3 separate regions of the Homo sapiens genome follow, and all the other regions are linked to region 1. The links are contacts of gene promoters, found by promoter capture Hi-C in blood cells and fetal thymus (Javierre and others, 2016). All regions are on one chromosome and are shown on one strand. Each heading gives the region's core, a stretch centred on a gene start or on the middle of the fragment in contact. The rest is flanking DNA. Distances are from core to core; before and after follow the strand shown.

Region 1 (4,392 bases), core at 804-3,303:
CTAATGCGTTATAATTTGCATATAATGAGCAGTGGGGACGACCAGAGGTAACTGTCATCACCTTTTTGGTTTTAGTGGGGTTTGGCCGGCTTCTTTACTGCATCCTGTTTTATCAGCAAGGTCTTTGTGACCTATAATCTTGTGCCGACCTCCTATCTCATCCCGTGACTTGGAATGCCTAACTTTTTGGGAATGCAGCTCAGTAGGTCTCAGCGTCATTTTATCCAGGCCCTGTTCAAGATGGAGTCGCTCTGGTTCTAACGCCTCTGACACTTGGAGAACATCAGGCCTATGGTAGATGTTGTACAAAACTTGGAGTCAGACAAGGCTACCTGGCTGTACTTGTTCGGAAAACCAGACTTGGAAAAAACGGGAGGGCGATGGCCTGATAATACAGTAGATTGCATTTTATGTTTTGAGCCTGGCTTGCAGCCAACATCCAAAAGTGTTTCCTAGGCAAGGTGCCTAACTGTGTTTTTCTGGATATTCTTCTAACTCATCGTGAGTCTTCAATAAATATTAAATAAACATGAGGAAGGTCCTGAGAAGGTCCTTTTACTGACCCTTGTCTCAAGAAAAGCAAATAGCCGATCGGTAAAAAGCAGCAGGTAGGAAGAGGGGATTTTATTTCCGTCAGTTGCCCTTATCCAGGTTTTGGGCTTAGTGCTGCTCCTCCACACTCATATAGTCCTGGCTGGCTTTTCCACGCATAGGTTAGGAAGCAACTGCTCTGGGGAGGGGGAAGGGGGGAAGAGGGGGAGGGAAAGAGGTCACGGGAAGCCTCCCTTCCTCCCACTGGCCTACCATTGAAGGCCTGTCAGGAGAAAGGAGAGAAGTGGGAGAGGGAGAGGGTGTGGCAGGGGTGGTCTGTGTGGCAAGAGGTAGAGAGAAAATAGTGGATCAGAGCAGGAGGGGGAGGAGCAGGGAAATGAAGCTCCTGTCCTAGGCACTGAAGTGTGGAGTGGGGCTGTGGCTAGAAAGGGGAGAGAAGATGCCTTTCTGGCCTTGCATGAGTCGTGGCAGAAAGGAGGAATCGCGAAGAGGAGCCGGCCATACCCAGCACACACCCCGAAGCCAAGCTGCTCATTACTAGAAAGGCTTATTCCCCCACAAGAAGTTAGTGCGGGCCAGCTAAGTGCCTACTATGTGTGCAGTATAGAAAGAAGTGCCCTGGAGAACCAGGTCGCGGGAGGCGGAGCCAGTCAACAGGGCTTCACCGAGGGGGCGAATTCTGTACACGGTTGTGAAGGAGGGTGGCTGTGCACGCGTGCAGGCTCCGAGTGCAGAAGACGAGGCAGGCCAGGGAGGAGGCGGAAGGAGGCGGAGCCTGAGCCGGAGGAGGGAGGAGGAGGGAGGAGGAGGAGGGAGAGCCGAAGCCGCGGAGGGTGGGAGGTGTGAATGGTGGACGGGTGAGGGGAGTGCCAGAGGCAGAAAAGGGAAGGAGGCGAGGAGGAGTAGTCGTGGCCCGAGGGCGTGTGGTGGGGCGAGAGCTGAACTGGACGGGAGGAGGGAGGCAGTGGCGGTGGCAGCGGGGAGGGGGAGGAGAGAGGGAGGGGAAGAAGGAGGAAGCGAGCGCGGCTGCTGCAGGGGGAGGAAGACGGGGAGGAGGAGCCGTGCGCCGCGGCGGCGGCCGCCAGGGGAACCGAGCGCCCGGCGCGGAGAGCGCGGGAGCGGAGCAGTAGCCCGATCCGGGGCCGCGGGCCGAGCTGCCGGTGAGTGAAGCCCCGAGGGGCGCGGCGGCCGGTCCCCGGGGCTGGGCGGGAGGCGCGGGAGGTTGCGGCGCCGGGGAGGAGGGAGGGGGGCCGGCTTTAGTCCAGGGGCCGGCTTTAGTCCAGCCCCCGGCTGGCCCGGCCTCCCGCCTTCCCTCTGGCTTCCTCCCTCCGCTGCCTGCGCGAGGGGGGCAGGTCCCGGGCGGGCCGCGGGCTGGGGGTGGTGCTGCCCGGAGGGCGGGCGTCTAGGGCCGGAGGGTGGAGCTGGGGGTTCGGGGGTGTACCCGGGGGCGGGAGGCTGGACAAGGACGGCTCTAAATTGGCTGGAGGGGCCCGTCGGCGGCGAAGTTGCTAGCTGGGGGCAGAGACGGCCACGCGGTTGCAGGAGTAAGAGATCCCTCTGTGGCGAGTGCGTGAGACGAGGAGTCCGGCGTCCCTGCCATCCCCGTCGCCCTCCCCGCCTGCTCGGCCCCGCTAGCTCCTCTCCTTGCCTCCGCGTGTCCCCTAGCTCTGACCCCTTTTGGCTCCCGGTTCGCTGCCGCAGCACTGCCGGGTCTCCTTGGCCCCCGCCCTGACCCTTTCGGCCTCCGGCTTCCCCTGACCCCTGCTTGCTTCGCCACTGCCCCGTTCCCGTTTTCTTCCCTCGCTAGTTACCCCTCCCGCTTCCTAATTCCCGGTGCAATTGCCTCTTTGAGACCTCTTTTTTTTTTTTTTCCTCTCCTTCCTTTTAGATTGGCCAACGGCTCCTTTCAACCCTGCCTCGTTGGTGGCCACTGGAGAAGCGCGGGGGGCTCCCCCAGACAGCCGTGGGGACAAGTTAGAGCCAGCACTTTACCCCGGGCCTTGCGTGTAGCTTCCCCTCCCCTACTCTCGGTGCCCTGGTGTCTGGAGGGGGGTTGTGGGGGTGTGCCCGCCTTACATGGTCCACCACCCGGGCAACCCTCTGGGCTTGTGTTCCATCTCACTCTTGCTTCCTGTACTGTGGTCAAGGGGAACCACTGCATCATGTCCCGGTATAGCTACCAGAGTCTCCTGGACTGGCTCTATGGGGGCGTGGACCCCAGTTTTGCAGGCAATGGGGGCCCCGACTGTGCTGCCTTCCTCTCTTGGCAGCAGCGGCTGCTGGAAAGTGTGGTGGTCCTGACCCTGGCTCTGTTGGAGATCCTGGTGGCCCTGCGGCACATCCTGAGGCAGACGAAGGAGGACGGTAGGGGTAGCCCTGGCAGCCAGCCAGAGCAGGTGACCCAGCGGCCAGAGGAAGGCAAGGAGAGCCTGAGCAAGAATCTGCTCTTAGTAGCCCTGTGCCTGACCTTCGGGGTGGAGGTGGGCTTTAAGTTCGCCACCAAGACCGTCATCTACCTGCTCAACCCCTGTCACCTGGTCACCATGATGCATGTGAGTCTGTTGACTTTTTCCTGGGCATCCTAAGTGATAAGAGTCATTTATGTGCTCAGGACACTCCATAGTGTACAGCACCTCATCCCGGCGGGCAGGGGGACCTTTAAAAATGATTTTCCAACGAGTGGCTGCCTTTGTGCCGATTTCAGGTTTGGCTTTCTTTCACCTTTGCACAGTGCGTCAGCCCCACAGTGGAGGTGAGGAACCTTGTGCCTGAACCCTAGGAACGACTGGCACTCACCCTGGCTGCCCCTCCCTTCCAGCCCAGCCCAACCCTGCCGTGCCCTGGGCTTTCACAAGCAGGAATTCCAGCCCCAGCCAGGTGCCCTTTCTGAATCACATCAGTGGACCATGACCCAGCTCCCTTGCCTTCTGTGGTAGTTAATTTCCCAGGGGCCTGGTGACACTCTTTCCTGGAGGTGGTCGCATAAACTTTCTCATCTACACTGTGGTACTTTGGGGAAATACTTTTACAGGTTTCTCTTAATGACTCTTTCATTTGGGAGTGTATGCTCTTAGAGTGAGGTCTGCCTTTGCATTTTGAGGCATTGGAGCAGCACCAAGCTCCTACTAAATGAGTTCTGAAGCAGGTCCCCAGGCTGACATGTGTACTTTGGGCTGGTGATCACTATGGTGAGAGGGTATTTCTTTTTTTGCAAACCTCTCCATCCTATTACTGTCATTCTGTCTCCTATGGTCATAGTCCAAGGGTGCTTAGGAAGCTGATTTCTTTACCTCATCGACTTCCACCCATTAGCGGTGCTAAGGAAAACAAATGGGATTGAAAAGGCAAGTTGCCAGATACATAAAAATAATCTGGGTGAGGACCAAGAGTGAGACTGTCTGTATTCAGCCTGTGTGGAGAGATGTTCTAAAGCTATAAAATCATGGAGGAGGAGGAAGAGGAGACTGGGAGAGCAATCAGTCTTTTTTAGATTTCAGGCTGTGGAAAACCGGGTGTGTTTTATTCAGGGGCAGTTTTGAAACCTGTCATTAGCATCTTTACTGCCTTTATGTTTGTAGAAGGTTATTCTTTGGAGACTTGTGACAGCCTAGCTTGGGGCAGGAGGTTGAGATTATTATCTCCATTTTACAGGCCTGGAGGGGTTTAGGAATGGCAGGTCATTTGCTTGCAGCCAGAAGATGAATTAGTGCCTGGGTTAGAAAGCAAACTCATCCACCTTGAGGTTGCAAGCTGTCAACCCCAAAGTGAGGGTGGCAGTGGGTGGTGGGGCAGTCCTGTGGGAAGACTCAGGCAGATGAGCACCACACTGTCTACCCATGG
Region 2 (4,392 bases), core at 1,349-3,848, 190 kb after region 1:
GTGTGCTGCAGACAGAGAGCATACTCTACATCTCACCTCTGTCAAATTAAGTAATCATCTGTCATGATGGAAAGCTGTAAGTGCAGGTCAGTGTTGGTTTACGTATAGCTGCACCCTCCACCGGCTCTCTGGGTGGGTCCATTTAAACAATTTGAGATATATATAGTCAGTACCTTCCAAACATAATACATTAAGAGGTAATTTTTAATTTTTTAATTGATACAAAATTGTACATATTTATGAGCGACACAGTGATGTTTCAATACATACAATGTATAGTGGTCAAATTAGGGTAATTAGCATATGTGTCACTGCAGACATTTATCATTTCTTTATGTTGGGAACATTCAAAATCCTGTCTTCTAGTTATACAAAGATATATCTTAAATTCATAACTATAGACACCCTACAGTGCTATAGAACACCAGAACTTATTCCTCCAGTCTAGTTGTATTTTTCTATCCTTTAACCCAGTGGTCCCCAACCTTTTTGGCACCAGGGACCGGTTTCATGGAAGACAGTTTTTCCACGGATGGGGTGGGTGGCAGTAGATTCTCATAAGCAGCACACAACCTAGATCCCTCACATGTGCAGTTCACAATAGGGTTCATGCTCCTATGAGAATCTAGTCCCACCACTGATCTGACACGAGGTGGAGCTCAGGCGGTAATGCTTGCTTGCCCACTGCTCACTTCCTGCTGTGCAACCCCGTTCCTAACAGGCCACGGACCAGTTCTGGTCCACGGCCCGGGGGTTGGGGATCCCTACTTTAACCAACCTCTCCCTTTTCACTCTCCCAACCCTTCCCAGCTTCTAGTAACCACTATTCTACTCTCCACTTCTATGAGATCAACTTCTTTAGCTCGCACATGAGTGAGAACATGCGGTATTTACCTTCCTGTGTCTGGCTTATTTAACATAATGTCCTCCAAGCTGATCCACGTTGCTGCAAATGACAGGATTTCAATCTTATTTATGGCTGAATAATATCCCATTATATACACAGCAATTTTTATTAAGGGGTCATTTCTAAACAAGGTTGTAACCAAGCGCTTGGGGTGAGGATGTAGATTGGCTTCAGAACAGTGCTTGAGACCTAATGTGATTCCCTCCAATTCTTGAAAGAGTTCTTCCAACAAGTTTGAGGTTTGAACACGAGATTGTCCCATGGGGCTACAGGTGTCAAGGCAGGCCTTTTAATGCAGTAGCCAAAAATAGTATATCCAGGGCTTTCCTCACTTGCATCCTCCCATTCATTTCTTCCTCCTGTAGGTGAAAAGCTTGAGCATACAGATGGGAAGCTATGAGAGCTTACCCAACCCAAACCCATACTTATCTTGGCTTATGTGGTTGAAGCTGCAGGAAGTGGGAGAAGCCATTCTCTGAATGGGCAGTCATTCACTGGCTGTCCTGGCTGGCAGCTCTGAATCCCGGTGTGACTTCTCCACCGCAGACTTCTCCTTACCTCACACTGATAGGACCCCTTAGATAGGGTAGTATTTCCCAGCAACAGAGGGGCACTGCTTCATCCTACACGCCCATACTTGCCCTCGGAAGCAGTAAAGCTATTTACACAGGGTCCAGAGGGGCATGAAATCTAAAGTGGAAATGCTGAAACTCTGGGAAGAATTTAGGTAGGTGGAGTGTGATTACTGAAGTTGAAATTTGTCCAGACCAGAGTTAACCACTAATGCTGTAAAAAAGAATGCTGTGGGCTCATTAAACTACTTCATTCTACCTGAACCTATTAATATGGTCGAAATCATTGAAAAATCTTATGTCCCATTAAACATGAATGATGAAAATAGGTAAAACCTGAGCAGATGGCTGCCTTTATGGAGCACTGGTTAAAACCACAATAGTCCTCTAGGATCTAAGAACACTTTTTAGCCACTGTGATTGACATAAGCACGTGTCATAAAATTTACATGGTTACCAGGGCTTTGGGGCAATGTAACAGAAATTGTCCTGGATATATTCAACTAGCAGCTAATCTTGAAATGTGCGTGAGACAGCAAATGTTTTAGAAAGAGCCAGAGGTATTTCCATACACAAGTACAATGTCCTTGGTAGCCTTTCCATAGAGAAAGGGATAAGGCAACAGTAGGCAGAGGCAGCACCCCAAGAGATTCCTTTCTTGACATAGGCTCTTATCTGGCCCTTGAAAGTCAATACCACCAGTTGCCCTACCCTACAATCCAGGTGTTTCCCCCAAGCCCAAGTTGGGGGTACCAATCTGGAACTGGAAAAAATAGCTGGTAATAAGTGTAAGCGTGTGGTATGCCTAGTGTGTGTATGAGTACGTACAAGCTCTGGGTGACCACATCTTGAGCATTTTCAGACTCTGTCCTATACTCAGAAAATGGGCAAGCCTTGATGGTAGGAGAAGGGGTCCCCATATCAGATGATTTAACTGAATAGCACTGCTACTGCCCCTCACCAGCTCACAAAGAGGAAATGCCCAATAACCACTGACTGATTTGGAGCGGACCTAAGCACAGCTAAGCTCCCGCCAGAATTCAAGTCTGATATTTGCCTGAGTTCTGTGGCAAAGGATCTGAAGGATCCTTAAAGGATCAATGTGGCCAGGTTAGGGTGTCCAAATAAAGGCTAATCTATATCAGCAAGCCAGGATTCAGAGATAGACAAAAGGATGACATTGGCAAATCATATGGCAGGGAGTGGCTACAAGCAGGTAAGGTTTCCCAAGTGCTAGTTTGGCAATAAATCAGTATCTGTTCCTAACTATATTCCTTCAGAGCCTTCAACTGTTAACCTTTTAGTAAGAAGTACCGACGAGACCAAGATCCTATGATGAGAGAGGTTAAACTTAAAAAAGAAACATAAAATGATAACTCGGTTTTAACATTTTATTGGGTAAATGATTTTAAAGGTAATAACAATAGTGTCAAAACTACTACAATATCTTTCCACAGCCATACCTTACAGACCCACATAAACCTTCTCATATTTTTTCTTTTTGCTCATATTTAATATTGTAAAGCCATACATGTCATATAAAATGCCCATTTCCAATAGTTTCTTCAAACTATTAAGCAATTAAATGTGGAAGGAAGGAGGGCCTAGTTATACTGGAAGGGGTTTCAGGTAATCTGTGATGTCTTACGGTAATCAAAAAACAGGTTACTAAGAAAGAAGGAAAAGAGGAGCTACTCCAGGTAGCTTTTTGCTCATTACAAGTCTCACCATTGTATCACCAAGAACTCATTATGCTGGTGACAGATTCAAAGTAATTTTGGGGAACATATAAAACACTAAAATAACTTAGAAACTAGATCCAAATATTTCAAAAGTAATCAACTTTGATATACAAAAGTAGTCAGAGGTGGTTACAAAAGTTTGTTTGCTCAGTGCGTCTATGTACCAGCGCAGTTACTGGGTAGAGCAAAATAAAAGGTTCATTTTCTTCTGAAATAGCAATAAAAAACAAGGAAAACATATATTTGTATATAAAGGATCAATGCTGGTCTTAAGAATAATGTCATCAGAAACCCTTAAATCGAGAGGCACACAACGGGTTTCCACTTTTAAAAAATAAAAGGAAAGTCACCAGTTTATTTAAATGGAGGAGGTGCTCACACCCCTCAAATAAACTTAATTCATTTTAACATCACTAGCAAAAATCACTTAGAAACTGTACAAAAATAAAAAAGTTAACACATTTAATCCTGCAAGGTTTTTGTAAGGACTGGAAGGCAGGCTTTTGAAGCAGCATTTGGGCATGGCTGGGGGCTTCTTTGGTTTGATCTAACACACATAAGAGATGGAACCTATTCCAGATGACAGTTTCAAATTTCCTGCACATTTGAAGACAAGATAAGAGGCCAGTATACAAACTTCCGGTGTGCTGGGCACTGGGACTGTATGTGCTGGACTGAAAATCTTACAACTGCTTTAAGCTTTAAGGGTGAGGGGAAGCAAGCCTTGCACTTCCTCCATCAATTTCACTGACCTCTCGTGTTAGGGGAGACTACAGAGGGTAGTAGCACATTCTCGTGCAGTCAGAAGGCCACTTGAGGGGTGGGGGACAATTTGTTCTTTTAGAATCTGGTACCTGGCTGACCTTGTTTAAGAACAAGAAAACCCTTCCAGAAATGGAAGCCTTTTGCTACATACCAAAGCAAAGTACGTACTATTTCCAAGAGGAAAAATACCCAGTTGCATCTGAAAATGGAAAACTTAAATGGAACGAATTAACATTTAAAAGGGGCTATGTAAACTTTGTGCTACTCAAATGAAGTTCAAGTATTACTTCTGAGCTGTTTAAAGATCACTGAACTCATACAATATTCTGATGATAAGAGTGCAATTCACATTTGTGTTTCTGAACAAATAAATCACAACTGGCTAGAACACAACCTGTGCAATCAG
Region 3 (4,392 bases), core at 1,368-3,867, 150 kb after region 1:
AAAATATTTTCCCCCTTCTTCAGACATTCATCCTAAAATAGCAAATACACAACCATCCTGTTGTTACTGTTTTGCTTAGCAATATTTCTTGGAGAGCTTTCCATGTGAGCCCACAAGAAGCTCCCCCTTTCTTTCTTTTTTTTTTATAGTGGCATAATATTACATTGTGTGGATGATAGAATACAGTATAATAAAAATGGCAGAGCTTTGACATAAGACAACTATATGCCAGATATTGTCACACACTTTTCCCATGCATTAACTCATTTAATCCTATAACAACTCTGTTAGGAAGGTGTTATTATTATCTCCCTTTTATGGAAGAGGAAACTGGTACTCAAATAGCAAGTGACAGTCCCCGGATTTGAAGCCAGTAGTATGGTTCCACGGTTCTTGCTTTTAATCATAACACAAAGTTACAACACTATATCATAATTTATTTTTTTCAGTCTGCTATTGATGGACATTTAGGTTGTTTCAAATCTTTTGATAATGTAAATAACACTGCACTGAAGGAACTGGTACCTTTGCCATTTTGCGTGTGTGCAAGAATATCTATAGGATATATTCCCAGAAGTGGTAATGCTGAATCACAGTATATGCATTTGTATTTTTGTTGGATATTTCCAAATCCATGAAAGTTGTACCAGTTTAAATGTTTACTAGCAATGTATGAGAGTGTCTGTTTCTACACAACCTCACCAAATTGGATTTTTGCCCATCTGATGGGTTAAAAAAAAAAGGTATATCAGTTCGATTTTAATTTTAATTTCACTTTGAGTGAAGCCAAGTGTCTTTTTACATATTTAAAATTGGCATTTGGCTGGGCATGGTGGCTCAAGCCTGTAATCCCAGCACTTTGGGAGACCGAGGTGGGTGGATCACCTGAGGTCATGAGTTCGAGACCAGCCTGGCCAACATGGCGAAACCCCCTCTCTACTAAAAATACAAAAATTAGCCAAGTGTGGTGGTGCGCATGCCCGTATTCCCAGGTACTCGGGAAGCTGAGGCATGAGAATCGCTTGAACCCAGGAGGTGGAGGTTGCAGTGAGCCGAGATTGTGCCACTGCACTCCAGCCTGTGCAACAGAGTGAGACTCAGTCTCAACAAAATAAAATAAAATAAAATTGGCATTTGATTTCCTCTTCCTTGAACTACATGCTCCTATCACATGCTCATTGTTCAATTGTGTTGGCCTTTTTACAAAATTTGAATCCTAAGAGCTTGTTACATATAAATATTAACAGTTTACCCTTTATGATATGAGCTACAGATATTGTCCTCAGTTGTGTTTTCTTTTGACTTTGCTAATGTTTTATTCTTGCCATGCAGGATTTTAAAATTTCTTTTTCTTCTTCTTTTTTTTTTCTTTTCTTTTCTTTTTTTTTTTTTTGTCTGAGACGTAGTCTCACTCTGTTGCCAGGCTGGAGTGCAGTGGCGTGATCTCAGCTCACTGCAGCCTCCGCCTCCCGGGTTCAAGCGATTCTCCTGCCTCAGCCTCCCAAGTAGCTGGGACTATAGGCACGTGCCACCACGCCCGGCTAATTTTTGTATTTTTAGTAGAGACGGGGTTTCACCATGTTGGCCAGGATGGTCTTGATCTCTTGACCTCGTGATCTGCCCACTTCGGCCTCCCAAAGTGCTGGGATTACAGGCATGAGTCACCCTGCCCAGCTGAATTTTTACCTTTCTATGTAATTTATCTTTTATGGCATCTGAATTTAGAGTCATGGTTAGAAAGCCCTTTACTACTCCAAGGTTATAAAAAATATATATCCCATATTTTCTTCTGGTATGTTTATAGTTCCTTTTATTATTATTTTTTACATTTAAGTCTTTTATTCACTTGGAATATATCCTGATATACAGTGCAAGATAAAGATCCAACTTTATTTCCAGCTGGCTTCCCATTTGTCCCCACACTGTTTATTAAATAGTCCAACATGATCCAATCTGCTTGTGGAGAAGATCATATTGGCTGCTGTGTGGAGAAATCACTGGGTCCTCCTGCTCTTACCTCCTAAATATCTCTCAGACTCATCCTCTCCTTACCATCTCTAGGACCAGTACCTTGGGCCAAGCCTTGCACATCTCTTCCCTCAATGATGATAATTGGCTCTGTGTGATCTCTCTCCAGCCAGCCTCCTTTGCTCCCCCTAAGCCCATTCCTGGAGCTACTTCTATAGCTCAAATAGGATCATAGCTCTTTGTCATTTGGAAGCTTTCAGTGGCCCCCCATCTTCCCCAGTGCACAAGACCGTATGACCTGATACCCAACCCCTTCTCCAACCTCATGTCTTTACACTCCCTTCTTTATACTGTACACTGTGGTGATACCCAAATCCTTGGGGTTCCCTGAGTATTTTATCCAATTTTCATGCCTCTGTGCCTTTGAAAATGCTGTGATTTCTGCCAGGAATGCTCTTCTCCAGCTGTGGGCCTAGAAACATTCATTTGTCAAAACTCATGTCAGTAGTTACTTTCTCCAAGAAGCCCTCTGTAACTATTCTACCCCAGCTCCCGCCAGCTGCCTCTGTTCCTCCCATTTTTGTCATCCTCACAGTATAGTCTTTACATGCTGGTCTCCCTGAGGACAGGAATTTTTCATTTCTTCTTGGTATGTAGGTGATGAATGAATGAATGAATGACCTTCTATTCAGGGATGTATTCCTGTACTGCAAATTGCACATAATTTATTATACATCTTACAAGCTAATGTTTACTAGGCACTGGGTTTGTTACATGTGTGATCTTGATCTCATTTAATTCCCACAGTGTCCACTAGACTTATGGGAGTACATCACGTGAGGCCCATGACCTTGAATGAGAAAAATAATCACATCTTTATGTCCATTAACTGCAACTGAAATACAGTCATCTCTCGGTATCCATGGGGAATTGGTTCTAGGACTTCCCCCACCACAAATACCAAAATCCAAGGATGCTCAAGTCCCTAATGTAAATGACGTAGTATTTGCATCTAACCTACACACATCCTCCTGTATACTTTAAAGGAAGCTTGTCTAACCTGTGGCCTAGGATGGATTTGAATGTGGCCCAACACAAATTTGTAAACTTTCTTAAAACATTATATTTGAAAAAAATTTTTTTTCAGCTCATCAGCTATCAGTAGTGTATTTTATGCGTGGCCCAAGACAATTCTCCTTCCCATGTGGCCCAGGGAAGCCAAAAAATTGGACATCCCTGCTTTAAATCATCTCTAGATTACTCATAATACCTAATACAATGTAAATGCTATATACATAGTTGTTATACTGTTTTTTATTTGTATTTTTTTTTACTATTGTTATTTTCATTTTTAAAAAATATTTTTGATCTGTGGTTGGTCAAATCCACAGATGCGGAACTTGCAGATATGGAGGGCCGACTTTGTGGTATATCCTTTAGTAAGGAATGTAGATAACAAACCACAGTTACATTAGCAGCACTTGGCATGCTGTTGTTAATGTAAATTACACTTATTTTCCTCTTATGTTAGAGTTGTTGCAGATATCTCAAAAAATCATTGGCATTCATCATTACCTCAAAATTTAAAAACAGATGTGCCTTTTAAAAGCATTTTGATAACTATAGTTCAACATGATTATTTTCTTTTATAATCCTATATATTCTATTTCGTATACTTAAATACTTTATTCTGAGAGAGAGCCTTTACACTTCCCCAGACTGCCCAAGGAGTGCATAGTACCACCAAGGTTAGGAGTCCCTTTACTAGAGTTTATTTTATTTTTATTTTTTTGAGACAGATACTCACTGTGTCACCCTGGCTGGAGTGCAGTGACCTGATCTTGGCTCACTGCAACCTCTGCTTCTCGGGTTCAATCAATTCTCGCACCTCAGCCTCCAGAATAGCTAGAAGTACAGTCACATGCTGCCACGCCCGGCTAGTTTTTGCATTTTTTGTAGAGATAGGGTTTCACCATGTTGGCCAGGGTGGTCTGGAACTCCTGGCCTCAAGTGATCCGCCTGCCTCTGCCTCCCAAAGTGCTGGGATTATAGGCATGAGCCACTGTGCCTGGCCTGCACTAGAGTTTAAACTGGTGTTTGAAACCAGGTGGGCAGAGATGCCTCTATGCTGCCTGTCCATGGAGTCGCTGGATTCAGACAGACTGTAGGTACAAATCCTAGTTATCCCACTTGCTAGTTAGTTCTGGCATTTGGTCGAGTACCTTGACCTCTCTGTGTCTGTTTTCTCACTTGCAAAATGAGGGTAGTAATAGTACCTACCTCATAGGGTGTTATGAGGATTCACTGAGCTGATACATGAAGAGTATACAGAACAATGACTGGCACATAGTAAATACTATGTATTGGGTTTGTATAATTATTAATTACCCACTGTTCTGCCTTGTGTTAATTATTCATCTTTCT

What was found. Contacts are between HindIII fragments. The CHiCAGO score rates a contact against its expected background, and 5 or more counts as called.
Region 2: a contact is called between a fragment that was not itself captured here and the fragment with the promoter of TMEM164 in region 1, in 1 of 17 cell types (neutrophils). The highest score is 5.1, in neutrophils.
Region 3: a contact is called between a fragment that was not itself captured here and the fragment with the promoter of TMEM164 in region 1, in 2 of 17 cell types (neutrophils and M2 macrophages). The highest score is 9.5, in neutrophils.

Annotation. Positions count from the first base shown.
Region 1 is chrX:110,001,061-110,005,452 of GRCh38, forward strand. TMEM164 (transmembrane protein 164) reads left to right here and starts at 2,054. Exons shown (of 7, transcript NM_032227.4): 1 at 2,054-2,118; 2 at 2,441-3,104. The coding sequence starts at 2,715. RefSeq lists a silencer at 1,299-2,158 and an enhancer at 2,261-2,916. The HindIII fragment of the contact is 10,429 bases long and covers 1-4,392 here.
Region 2 is chrX:110,191,330-110,195,721 of GRCh38, forward strand. It overlaps AMMECR1 (AMMECR nuclear protein 1), which reads right to left. Exons shown (of 6, transcript NM_015365.3): 6 at 2,857-4,392. Among named protein-coding and RNA genes, the nearest start is that of SNORD96B, 32 kb to the right of the region's middle. The HindIII fragment of the contact is 2,640 bases long and covers 1,279-3,918 here.
Region 3 is chrX:110,150,678-110,155,069 of GRCh38, forward strand. All of the region lies in intron 5 of TMEM164 (transmembrane protein 164), which reads left to right. Among named protein-coding and RNA genes, the nearest start is that of MIR3978, 71 kb to the left of the region's middle. The HindIII fragment of the contact is 797 bases long and covers 2,220-3,016 here.